4 separate regions of the Homo sapiens genome follow, and all the other regions are linked to region 1. The links are contacts of gene promoters, found by promoter capture Hi-C in blood cells and fetal thymus (Javierre and others, 2016). All regions are on one chromosome and are shown on one strand. Each heading gives the region's core, a stretch centred on a gene start or on the middle of the fragment in contact. The rest is flanking DNA. Distances are from core to core; before and after follow the strand shown. Region 1 holds the start of ADAM10 (ADAM metallopeptidase domain 10). Region 2 overlaps LIPC (lipase C, hepatic type). Region 3 overlaps LIPC (lipase C, hepatic type). Region 4 overlaps LIPC (lipase C, hepatic type).

Region 1 (2,900 bases), core at 233-2,732:
GGCTGAGGCAGGAGAATCGCTTGAACCTGGGAGGCAGAGGTTGCGGTGAGTCGAGATCACACCATTGCACCCCAGCCTGGGCAACGAGAGCGAAACTCCGTCTCAAAAAAAAAAAAATTCTCTTCACTTATGTTAATGGTAATAAATGGTATAAAATATACAGGTAACAGTATAGGAATTCCAGTTTATTACAGTATCAATAACATTAAGGCCGAGCGCAGTGGCTCACGCCTGTAATCCCAGCACTTGTGGGAGGCCGAGGCGGGAGGATCGCTTGAGTTGGAGGTTACAGTGAGCTATGATCACACCACTGCACTTCAGCCTGGCGAGACAGCGGATACCTTGTCTTTAGAAAGCAAAACAAAACAATTTACACACACACACACACACACACACTCTCCCTAATTCGGCTTGAGTTGGAGGTTACAGTGAGCTATGATCACACCACTGCACTTCAGCCTGGCGAGACAGCGGAGACCTTGTCTTTAGAAAGCAAAACAAAACAATTTACACATACACACACACACACACGCACACACACACTCTCCCTAATTCGGCCTACTCAAGCACGATACCAAATAGATGAAGAATATCTAATTAAATGGCCATAAAAAGTTCTAGTTCATGACATCCAAGTTTAAAGAATCAAAATGAGTTACGAGAAAACAAACACAAGCTTTAAGAAGTTGGGGAGAAGATGTGCGTGGATTCGCTTCAAAGATGTGACAGAGAGAAAAGAGGACATTTTCTGGACTGGAGATTCAAGACAGTCTGGTTCAGGTTGCATGCTTTTGCAAAGGCTAAAGCCTTAGTCTGTGACATAAATTTGTAAAGAGCTCGGAAAATTACATCTCGGACATGGTGTCTTTTTTTCCTGCTGCTTGAAGGTCTTTGCATTTATGTTCGCATCACTGGGGCAGCTGCCGCTATAATTACTGCTTGTTGGGACTTTTTGTTTACTTGGTAGCTGTGGTGCACCAAGAGAGGCAGAAAAAGAAGAAAAAAAACCTCTGTTACTTGTGACGTTAAGAAGTCGAAAGCAGCCCTGCTTACATCTTCCACGGACCATTTTAGCCCAAGGGAAGGTCCTCAGCAGCTCTAACACGTAGCGGAGCACTATCTCCGCGTAGGAGCGCTCCCGCCCCGGGGCGGGACCAGGACAAACCCCGCCTCCCAAGCCCAATCCCAGCTCTCCGCCGGCGGACAGGAAGCGGCGGCAGGCCTAGCAGCACGGGAACCGTCCCCCGCGCGCATGCGCGCGCCCCTGAAGCGCCTGGGGGACGGGTAGGGGCGGGAGGTAGGGGCGCGGCTCCGCGTGCCAGTTGGGTGCCCGCGCGTCACGTGGTGAGGAAGGAGGCGGAGGTCTGAGTTTCGAAGGAGGGGGGGAGAGAAGAGGGAACGAGCAAGGGAAGGAAAGCGGGGAAAGGAGGAAGGAAACGAACGAGGGGGAGGGAGGTCCCTGTTTTGGAGGAGCTAGGAGCGTTGCCGGCCCCTGAAGTGGAGCGAGAGGGAGGTGCTTCGCCGTTTCTCCTGCCAGGGGAGGTCCCGGCTTCCCGTGGAGGCTCCGGACCAAGCCCCTTCAGCTTCTCCCTCCGGATCGATGTGCTGCTGTTAACCCGTGAGGAGGCGGCGGCGGCGGCAGCGGCAGCGGAAGATGGTGTTGCTGAGAGTGTTAATTCTGCTCCTCTCCTGGGCGGCGGGGATGGGAGGTGAGGCACGACTGCGAGCGCCGGGGGCGCCGCGACCACGGCGGAGCGGCGGCCGGGCCGAGCGGAGCCCAGTCGCGCCTCGCGGCGTGCGCGTCAGTCAGCCCAGCCGGCCAGCGGCGCCACTCTGGCGGGCCGCGCTCCCCGCTCCCTATTGTCCCCCGCGCCCCGACCGCTTTCCCTTCGGTGGCGGGCCGAGGAGGCTCCCAAGCCTCCGGCGAGGCCTTCCCCGCCCCCCACCGCCCTGGCGGCCCCGGGAGGCGGGGGTCGCCTCCCAGAGAAGCGAAGTCGGGGCATCCGCGTCGCCTGGTGAGAGCGGTGGAACCCAGGCTGGTGGCTGCATCCCTCCAGTCTGCTCGGCGGGCGCCGGTGCAGGCAGCCGCAGCGAGGCTGGCGGTCTCGCCGTCCTCGTTCAGCGCTCATCCTGCTCACCATTCCTCCCCCAGCCCCTGCCCGGTGGCGGATTCCGAAGTCCTCTCCGCCGCCGAGACCCGCCGCGCAGACTCGTGGGAAGTTGTGTTGTTTGCAGCTGGGCTCGTGTATTGTTCTTTACCCGGCGCGCCGGTCCTGACCGACCCCATTCTGCAGAGGGGCCGCCCGTGGAGTGGCAGCAGTCATCACCCGCTTATCTGAGACTAGTGGCCTCGGTTCTTCCTGTGTCCTGTGTTTGGAGAGAGATCACAGGAGGGTGTGTTGGTGTTCTTGAAAACATTCTGTCGCCCAGGGGAAAGGGTTTGGTCGGGAGAAGGGTAAACCATTTGGGGATGTTCTTTGATTTGTAGGCTGGATTGGGTCTCTTAGAGTAGAAGTTCGGTCCCTGGGTGACCCAACTTGAAGAGTTTCGTTAAACTTTCAGGTGGAGTAGATGTACAGTGTAGTTAGTGGATTGTCAAAACAGTGCCCCCTCCCCCCTGCACATGAAAGTCAAATTTGCTAAAAGCATGTCATTTCTTGTTTCGGGTTTTGAAGACAACGATTTTTATTTCCGGTGTGTTCTAGGACCAGCTGCATCATTTTATTCTTGCTTAAAGTGCTTTATTTTAGGTAAGCTTTTTGACTTGCCCCAGAGTAAACTTAAAAACCTCAAGGTGTGCCTAAAAGCAACGATTGAAAAAATTTGAGGAATGCTTTGGATGAGTGTCTGTAGCCTTTGATAATTTAGAAAATATCTATTTCATGTAATGTATTGTTTCT
Region 2 (3,009 bases), core at 433-2,932, 260 kb after region 1:
TACCTGCTGGAGTAACCACCCTTCAAATGGCCCAAGGGCCCCTGCCTCCCAGGATTTGTACCCTGTGTGGTCCTCTCCCACATTGCACCAGGGTTGGTCTGACCAATAACAGAGCAGAAGTGATGGGTATGTCACTGCTGGGATTAGATTGTGAAAGACTAGGCCTTCCATTGTGGAGCCTCTTGCTCTCTCTGGGGATTCTCTCTCTTGCTGTGGGAGAAGCCAACTGCCATGTTGTGAGCAGCTTTAGGGAGAGGCCCCCATGGCAAGGAACTGAAGCCTCTGTCCCAGTAGCTGCAGGGATCTGGGGCCTGCCAATCTCCTCATGAGCATTATTCTCCAGCCTCAGTGGAGTCTTACCTCTGTACTAGGAGGCAAGGTGACCTCCTCCAGAACCCCTACTCTCATTTCTTAAAACCTCTCCTCCTACCTGGGGTTGTTCTAGTAAATAAAGTTCCCCCACAAGCAATTCATTCCTTTCAGTACCCATTGCCATCTTCCTGTGCGTCTCATGAAGAAAACACCCGTGGGAGTTGTTCATGCTTAAGGAGGTTTCAATTTCTTTTATAGTGAGCCATATAAATATATATAAACTTATATATTCAAATATATAAATATTATAGATATATTAACATTTAAAAAATATTTCACATATACAAATATATACAAAATTTTGTATAAATTTTATTTATACGTAATAAATTTTGTATAAATTTTATTTATACGTAATAAATTTTGTATAAATTTTATTTATACGTAATAAATTTTGTATAAATTTTATTTATACGTAATAAATTTTGTATAAATTTTATTTATATGTAATAAATTTTGTATATATACAAAATACATACTTTTTTTCTAGGTGTGTATATATGTATATATACACAAAAAAATATATATATATTTTAAATTGTGAATGGCAGGATCTAATGTGTGCATAGTGAGCCAAACTCGGGTGTGGGCCAGGCACATATGGAGTCTTTATTTCTTGTCTGTTTTCCTAGGTTCCCTACGATGCCCCAGTTTTGTGACATAATTTCAGTGGAGTTAAAGATCCCACAGCACCAGCTGCTAGTCCAAACGGGCAGACAGTAGGCAGGCTGTGGTGGAGTGCTGGCGGGAGGAGGTGGCCGGCAGAGAGAACCTCCTCGCCTTGCTAGTTATGTGAGCTTCCTAATCATGTGAAGTTGATTTTGCTGAGTCATCACTGATGAGGGTATGGGTTCTTTTGGTCTGATGATGATGTGAGATACCATGGGGGGCCAGGGTGGATGGGAAGCTTCCTAAGTATGAGTTTACTTATTAAATCAGTTTTCTTCATGACAGCAAGAAAGTTCTGGATCACTGGGAGAATGGAAGAGCACCTGGCGCCAGGATTTAGCAGAGATATCATTTAGGAATCCATCAGGAATGGAAGAGCATGTAGAAAATTAGGGGCATACGGGGGAAAATAAGCTCTGATGTAATCCTGCAGATTTGCCCAGGGCCCCCTCTCCTGTTCTTGGCCAGCTGTCAGGAGGAAAAGGCTCTGTGAATGATGTCTTACTCAGGCACCTGTTTATGGATTTCCATCCTGTCCCAGGGATATTTGGGTTTAAGGAGGGGGGTGAGTGAAACTTTAAAACAAAACAGAACAAAAAACAAAAATAGAGGAATTCCAGGCACCAGGTGGAGATTGGTGGGACAGAGCCCTAGATTTGGTTTTAGAACTCTACCACTGGCTTGATTGGCTTTGGGTGGCTACATTTGCAGAGCTGGGTGGCACAGAGCTAAAAGAATGGGCCTGAGTGGGAACTTGGGCTCTTGTGGACTGTGTGGCCTTGGGCAGGTAACTTGGCCTCTTTGGATTGTCCTTGTTTGTAAAACGAAATTCAATGATAGTTCATAGCTAATACTTTTGTGGGGGTTTAGAGTAGGAGAATGCTTAGTACAGACTTGCCACATAGTAGAATAAAGATAAGCTATTACAGCTTTATAATGTGTTTATATTATGGCTATGTATATTATAGTAACATTACAATAATATCAATTAATGACAGTAATATTAATATACTACAGCTATGTAATAATACCTAGGAAGCTTCCATGGCCATAGAGAGCATGGTTTTAGGTTTCTTCCACTTGCCTGACCTTTCCTACCTGCCATTCACAAACATCAAAGCAGGCCAAGTTGAGGATCTGCTAGGAACTGAGGGCAGGGTGGGCCACAGGCCATCTGGGGAGGGTGCTTGTTCTTCTGGGTAGAATGCTTGGGGAGCCTCCCCTGCTGTCAGATTCTGGGTGGCACCTCTGTTCTTGGCAGGGACAGTCCCTCTCTGGGGCTGGGGAAGGCTGTACAATGGGTGCTCTGTTGCTTGCTGGGACCATGTCAAGGTATCCAACTGGGTCAGAAATGCAGCTACAGAGCTGGGACCCCCTGCTCCAGGTCATGTGTGAAAGTGTGGGCAGAGAGACCTCCAGCCTCCAGGCCTGTTAGCATCTCTGGAAGGACCAATAGGAATCACGTGGCAGGCAGTGTTTCTGGCACCCTGAGCTCTCAGTGGGGTCAACAGTCCTGTGGTACCCCAGCCCTCTTAGGTCAGGCCAGGGATGAGGGAAGGGCCAGTGCTTTGTACCTCTGGTCAGGCAATGGCAGTTTCCCACTAAAGCCCTACGACTTTGACTCTTGTCCCAGAAGTTTTACCACACACTGAATAAAAGTACGACTGTGAAGTTGTTGCTGCCTGACAGCTGGTTGCAAAACTGTGCCTTGCCCAGCACCTGGCACCAGTATTTGGCAGAGATATCATTTAGGAATCCATCAGGAATTTGGTCTCTGGGGTATGAAACTGAGGTGGGGAAGGAGAGGGTGGAGAGGGTTGGTTTAAAGTAACTTTAGCACCTCTTATTGTTTTAAGTAGTCTGCCAGGCAGTGACATTCATTTGGTCTTTTAAACCTGACAACCAAGATAGTATTATAATTATTCCCACTCTACAGGCCAGGAAACTGAGCCTCAGAGAAGCTGAGTG
Region 3 (2,899 bases), core at 27-2,526, 300 kb after region 1:
ACAAAACAATACATCAAACCCTAATCTATAATGTTTGCCAATGTCCATGTATAAATACAGCCATCATGGCTGCTGTTAAGCTCCCACTGTGATGTTACTGATAACGGAGTTGGGAAGAGATTCACTTTGGTGTATCATTGAATAGTATTTCCACCACACAGTACGACAGACGGAAATAACCTTACAGACAGAGACAATAGTAAAATGAGAACAGAGGAGTTTTGAGTATTTATTACTGTCATTTTAAACATTTGTTTCATTGTAAGTTCTATAATGTAATTTTAAAATAATGGCTATGTTTAAAAATCAGCTTGCAAAATTCTTGAAAATTTAGCAATTGGCTTTGTGAGAGGGTGAGGGCTTTCATCTTCCCTGGGGAAAATATGATCCCAGCCCATGTGGGCGACACATCTCACCAAACCCCAGGCCCTGGGGGTGAGCGCTGCACGTGGTAAGGGCATGGGAGGGTCTTGTGAGCATCAGAAGTCTTAAACTTGAAGAAAGAAGCCTCTTGTGTGTAGCAGAGGCCCCAACCCCACCTGTTGACTAGAAAATTGCCATGCACTGTGGTCACCATGTGGGAGTAAAACCATGAACTTCCACCCACCATAGGCAGAAGTGAATCATTCAGACAGAGCCATCCAGAAGGCACAGATGGCTTCCTGACCCCATTTGACCTGGGCTGGGTACTCCATGGAGCTCAAGCTCAAGGTCAGCTCTGTCAGCCCCAAACCCCAGCTTTCTGCTTTGGAAGTACCAGCTTATATCCCCACCCTTTCCCCCAGCCCAGGAAGGGAGTAAAGCCAAAGGGGTTCCAGGGGAACCTAAGACCTTGGCCTGGGAAGGTGATGGTTGGGACCCATGTGACTGGGCATGACCAGAACGAATTGGTGTTTTCCCTAAGGAAATCCCTTGCCCCAAACTCTCCCCTGCCAGCTGCTCTGTGGCCTTGGAGACAAGCTATTTCTCTGGTTATTTGCTCCAAGTTCACCCAGAGCTGGAAGACAAGTGTGGCTGAGGCACCTGCATGAAACAGCAGGGAGAGAACAGGTGCTCAGGAGTCACTGGGCTGGGTTCCCATCTTGCCATCACCTCTGCATGTGTGACCTTGGGCTTGTCACTTAATCTCTCTGAGCCTGTTTCCTTATAGGTTAAACACCTCACAGAATCACTGTGGGGTCAACTGAGATAATGTATGTGAAGACGCATTGCAAATAGCAAATGTGGCACCAGGACATCTGCTGAAACAACAGGTGCTAAGGAACCCACATTCTATCCATTTTTTTTCTTTTTCTTTTCTTTTCTTTTTTTTTTTTGAGACAGGGTCTTGCTGTGCATGATCATGGCTCACTGCAGCCTCGCTCTCTGTGGCTCAAGCAATTCTCCCACCTCAGCCTCCCTAGTAGCTAGGACTATACCAGGCCTGGCTGATTTTTTTTTACTTTTAGTAGTTGGGATTTCACCATATTGCCCAGGCTGGTCTTGACCTCATGGGGTCAAGCAATCCACCTGCCTCGGCCTCCCAAAGTGCTGGGATTACAGGCATAAGCCACCGCGCCAATGTACGGAACCCACACTCTGTAATGAGAGTTGCCAGCAACTGGGGCCAAATTCTTCAAACTCCAGGGCTCTCAAAGAAGCAGTCTCTATTCCCATCACCACCTTCCCCCAGCCCATGTTAGACAGACAAGTGGGAGAGGGAGAGTAGGAATTGCTGGGAGAATAATTTAGTTCTCTTCTTCCCATTGTTAGTCTCTAGAGTTCAAGTTGGGGGACCGATTAGAATCACTTACCGAGAATGCGGAATGAGGGTGCCTGCAGGAGGCAGAAATGGTCATATTGTTCCAGGCTGTATGCTGGCTGAGACGTTGCTATTCTAGGTCCCATGTGGTGCTGGGGATATGAGGATGGAGTTTTGGAGAGAGACTGACCTGTATCCATAGGAGTTTATGGGACTGTGTGGCAACGTGGGGGTTGTGCCTGTTTTAGCCATCTGAAGAGAGGAGGCTCAGCCAAGCGGGGAGAAGAAATACTATGAGGCAGTGTACCTGAGGGGATGGGTCCCCACACCTCAGCTCCCATCAATCCTCAGAGGCGGGGAAGAAGACCGAAGTCATTTCTGAGACTTTGTACAGGAGGACAGAGTAGGAGGGGCATGGACCTTTGGAGAAGCCAAAAGGGGCCACAGCTGTCCTTAGTGACAAATGGGCTGGGCTCACACCGATAGGGCCCTCAGAAAACCACATCCACATCTTCACAGGCCAAGGCCACCAGCAGCAGATGGGACCACAGTGAACCAGAGCAAGAGCAGACCACTCACAAGAGATGAGGACCTCTGTGTCCCCCAGCTGTACCCTCACTACCAGCTCCCAGTCCCATGGGGGTTGGGCTCTGAAAAATGAGGGGCAGCAATCCCAGGACCAGGCCTCACCCTGCCCTCCCACCCCATCCCACTCCACCCTACCCCACGGTGCTCCAGAGAAAAGAGGAGTGAAAGAGCAGAACTATCCTATCCCCTCCCCACTGCAGATTCCATCTTCTTTGAGTCTAGCTCATGAGAGAAGGGAAGAATGTCAAATCAGATGTGAGATTGAGGCTTTAGAATAAAGTAAAATAACTTAATAATCGAACTGACCAAAAGTTAAAGGAATCTGCCCAGGATGCTATAAAGGGATGGAAGCATATAACTTGATAGTGCGTGGCTGAAGGCTGGAATGGGAGAAATAGAAAACTGTTTCACGTTCACACTCTTCTAAATTCAGACTGCTCAATAAACCCTGAACATAAGCCTTAGTTTTTATAGTAGGTGGTCCCTTTGAACTTGATGGATTGGATCAAATACATTTATAGGCAGACGTTCTCAAACTTTGGTGCCTGTTTCAGAATCACCCAGAGGGTG
Region 4 (2,821 bases), core at 161-2,660, 310 kb after region 1:
CACTACTTTCTCGATTTCTTCTTTAGTTATAAAGCAGTGAACAATTTTTAAAAAGACAAATACATTTTAACTTTAAGATATTCAAATGCAGTAAAAATATTTTTCGTATGAGTCCAAATTTTTACCTATCAAACAAGATGTTACAACTCATTGTTCACAATCTGTTTTGTTGCTTTAAATTTTAAACACATATGAGAAGCTTACAGGGGTCACCTAGGATGAGAGAATTGAAATAATTCAAGTTCTGGTTTTTTGTTTGTACAACCACTACGCTATCATTTTTTGTTTCAAATCTACTGTTTACATGCAGAAGCAGGTAATAAGTGCCACTGAGGTTGGAGACATAAGGACGTCAAAGGATCTGAACCATCGCACACTTACTCTTGCAACAAGAACACGCCCCTGAGTCTGTGCATGTTGGGGCCAAGTGCATAACCGGGAGTTCTCCAGATTAATGTCAATGTAGAACACAATATTTATGAAAGGATAAATAATAAAGATGTGATGAATTTGAAGCTTACATATACTTACTACATAAAATCCAACAGTAACCACGGAGATTGTTTAGAACTTAGGCCATAAAACCATTTTTTTCTGGAAAGAGCTTTGCCTTTATCGCTGATACTCTTTCTTTTGGGATGGAGTTTCACTTTGTTGCCCAGGATGGAGTGCGACGGCGCCATCTCGGCTCATTGCAACCTCTGCCTCCCGGGTTCAAGCAATTCTCCTGCCTCAGCGTACCAAGTAGCTGGGATTACAGGTGCCCATGACCAAGCCTGGCTAATGTTTTGTATTTTTAGTAGAGATGGCATTTTACCATGTTGGCCAGGCTGGTTTTGAACTCCTAACCTCAGGTGATCCACCCACCTCGGCCTCCCAAAGTGCTGGGATTACAGGCGTGAGCCACGGCGCCCGGCTGACATTCTTTATAATTGTGATAATGACAGGCAGATCAGCTTTTGGTTATATTTGTATTTAAATTCTCCACAGACGGTTGCTCTTTTATTGATGGCACATCCCCCCTCCACCCAGTCCCATGGCCCCCTATTCCCTCCCCACCCCACTCCCACCCCATTTGACTGTAAATTCCTGCAAGGTGGGGACGGCTGTGCAGCCCCCTGTTGTACAGTGCCCACTGCACAAGCGCAGTGGTTTGCAGGCCAAGGCCCCAGGGAGATCGCCTTAGGATGTCCTCCCTTTTCCTCTATGGGAGGCCAGATTTTCTTCCTACATTTCAAACAAAGCAATACATCACAACAGACTGAGTACAGAAACAGGTAAGATAATCCAGCTGTCTTGGGAAGCCAGATATTAGAGAGATTTGCAACATTTCTTTGTAAAACAATGTCACTCTTCTCCATTTAAAACTTATTTGGAAAATACAAGTTATTTTTCATAAAATTACATTATATGTGTTAATATGCAAGGGTTTATTATCATTTTAAAAAGTGTTAGCAGATTTTAAAGATTTCTCAGTTTTAATTTCTAATGAAGGAAATATTGATATCTCACATAATAAACACTGTTTGGGGTCCTCAGTGATTTTTAAGAGAGGAAACGTGTGAACAGAGTGTGTGAGTTGTACTCAGGCACTGCGTTACGTATGGCAGGTGCTCATGTATGCTTGTGACACTCATGAGGGACTGACTGAATAGGTAGCTTTCAGCTGCTCCTAGGATTTGCAAGCTGAGGCTGGGGTGGAGGGGAGGGAGAAGGTGCCTGTTGATAGTGGGCCCAGTACCGGGAAGGTGGGACTTGCCAGGGTCTAGGAGCAGCGTTGGCTCTCATGGCAACACCGACTGGGGAACCTGGGTCTCAGGCATTGGGGCTGGGCATAAGTGTGATGTGCCATGTGGGCTTCAAGCAGCTCACGCTATCCAGTCCCCCTTAGTGCTGAAGGGCAGGAACAACTGTCTAAATCTCCCTCTCTGTGAGAGGAACTGAGCAGAATGTTTTTCTAGAAACCTCTGGCTGTCAAATCACTGGGTGTGGGCTCGACACAGAGCACTGCGGCCTCAGTAGACAGATTGAGGCTGCAGGTACCTCTCCCTGCTCTGCCCTGACCAGCTATGCGACCGCCGGCAAGGCACTTAACTGCCAGCTTACTCAACCATATGGTGAGGATGAGATAAAATGTCCGTGGAGTGCCTGGCACATGCTGGGTGTGCAGCACATTAGTGACTCCATTAGTAAGATGTCATTAATAATAAATACTCAAAAGAAGTAGGCTGGGAGGAGGGGCTAAAGAGGAAGGGTCCTTGAGGGAGTACTTCCTGGTGCTCGATGAGTGACAGTTGAAGCTTGGCATAGATCATGGTTTCTCAGCCTCTGCACTAATAATGTTTTGGGCCAGACAATTCATTGTTGTGAGGGCTGTCCTGTGCATTGTAGGATGTGAAGCAGCTTCCCTGGCCTCTACCCACTAGATGCTGGAAGGGAAGCACTCTCTCCCTGGTCTTAACAACCAAAAACCAAAAATGTCTCCAGACATTGCCAAGTGTCCCCTGGAGGGCAAAATTGCCCCTGTTGAGAACCATTGGTGTAGAAACTTTCCTGACAAGGGCTCCACCACAGGACACCGGCTTCCCTGCGGTTTCCCCAGAAAGACATCATACCAGCCACATGCACACAGATTGGGCTCACTCATTGCAGAAAGAATTCTGCCAAGAGATTCTGCTTCCAAGAGAACAAGAGGCCTCCTGACTTGGATCCTCTTTTCTGAGGAACCCTCTTGCTAATAGTGGCCACTTCTCTCAGCATTTGCACAAACTAGGCCCCGGGGAAAGAAGCAGGCTGATCAGGACAATGAGATTGCTCAAGG

Evidence for each region. The method cuts DNA at HindIII sites, captures the fragments that hold promoters and counts their contacts. A CHiCAGO score of 5 or more calls a contact.
Region 2: a fragment that was not itself captured here is called in contact with the fragment with the promoter of ADAM10 in region 1 in 8 of 17 cell types (megakaryocytes, fetal thymus, activated CD4 T cells and 5 more); the score reaches 8.4 in megakaryocytes.
Region 3: a fragment that was not itself captured here is called in contact with the fragment with the promoter of ADAM10 in region 1 in 12 of 17 cell types (M2 macrophages, fetal thymus, megakaryocytes and 9 more); the score reaches 10.3 in M2 macrophages.
Region 4: a fragment that was not itself captured here is called in contact with the fragment with the promoter of ADAM10 in region 1 in 11 of 17 cell types (megakaryocytes, erythroblasts, M2 macrophages and 8 more); the score reaches 11.2 in megakaryocytes.

What each region holds. Positions count from the first base shown.
Region 1 is chr15:58,748,289-58,751,188 of GRCh38, reverse strand. It overlaps ADAM10 (ADAM metallopeptidase domain 10), which reads left to right and starts at 1,482. Exons shown (of 16, transcript NM_001110.4): 1 at 1,482-1,709. The coding sequence starts at 1,655. RefSeq lists enhancers at 863-1,042, 2,133-2,262, 1,714-2,349 and silencers at 1,113-1,402, 1,733-2,022. The HindIII fragment of the contact is 2,079 bases long and covers 679-2,757 here.
Region 2 is chr15:58,491,366-58,494,374 of GRCh38, reverse strand. The region is part of intron 1 of LIPC (lipase C, hepatic type); the gene reads right to left. All of the region lies in intron 2 of LIPC-AS1 (LIPC antisense RNA 1), which reads left to right. Among named protein-coding and RNA genes, the nearest start is that of LIPC-AS1, 5.9 kb to the left of the region's middle. The HindIII fragment of the contact is 801 bases long and covers 1,282-2,082 here.
Region 3 is chr15:58,452,284-58,455,182 of GRCh38, reverse strand. The region is part of intron 1 of LIPC (lipase C, hepatic type); the gene reads right to left. The region is part of intron 2 of LIPC-AS1 (LIPC antisense RNA 1); the gene reads left to right. Among named protein-coding and RNA genes, the nearest start is that of LIPC, 22 kb to the right of the region's middle. The HindIII fragment of the contact is 5,070 bases long and covers 1-2,899 here.
Region 4 is chr15:58,433,725-58,436,545 of GRCh38, reverse strand. The region is part of intron 1 of LIPC (lipase C, hepatic type); the gene reads right to left. It overlaps LIPC-AS1 (LIPC antisense RNA 1), which reads left to right. Exons shown (of 3, transcript NR_120338.1): 3 at 1-1,645. Among named protein-coding and RNA genes, the nearest start is that of LIPC, 3.1 kb to the right of the region's middle. The HindIII fragment of the contact is 1,784 bases long and covers 519-2,302 here.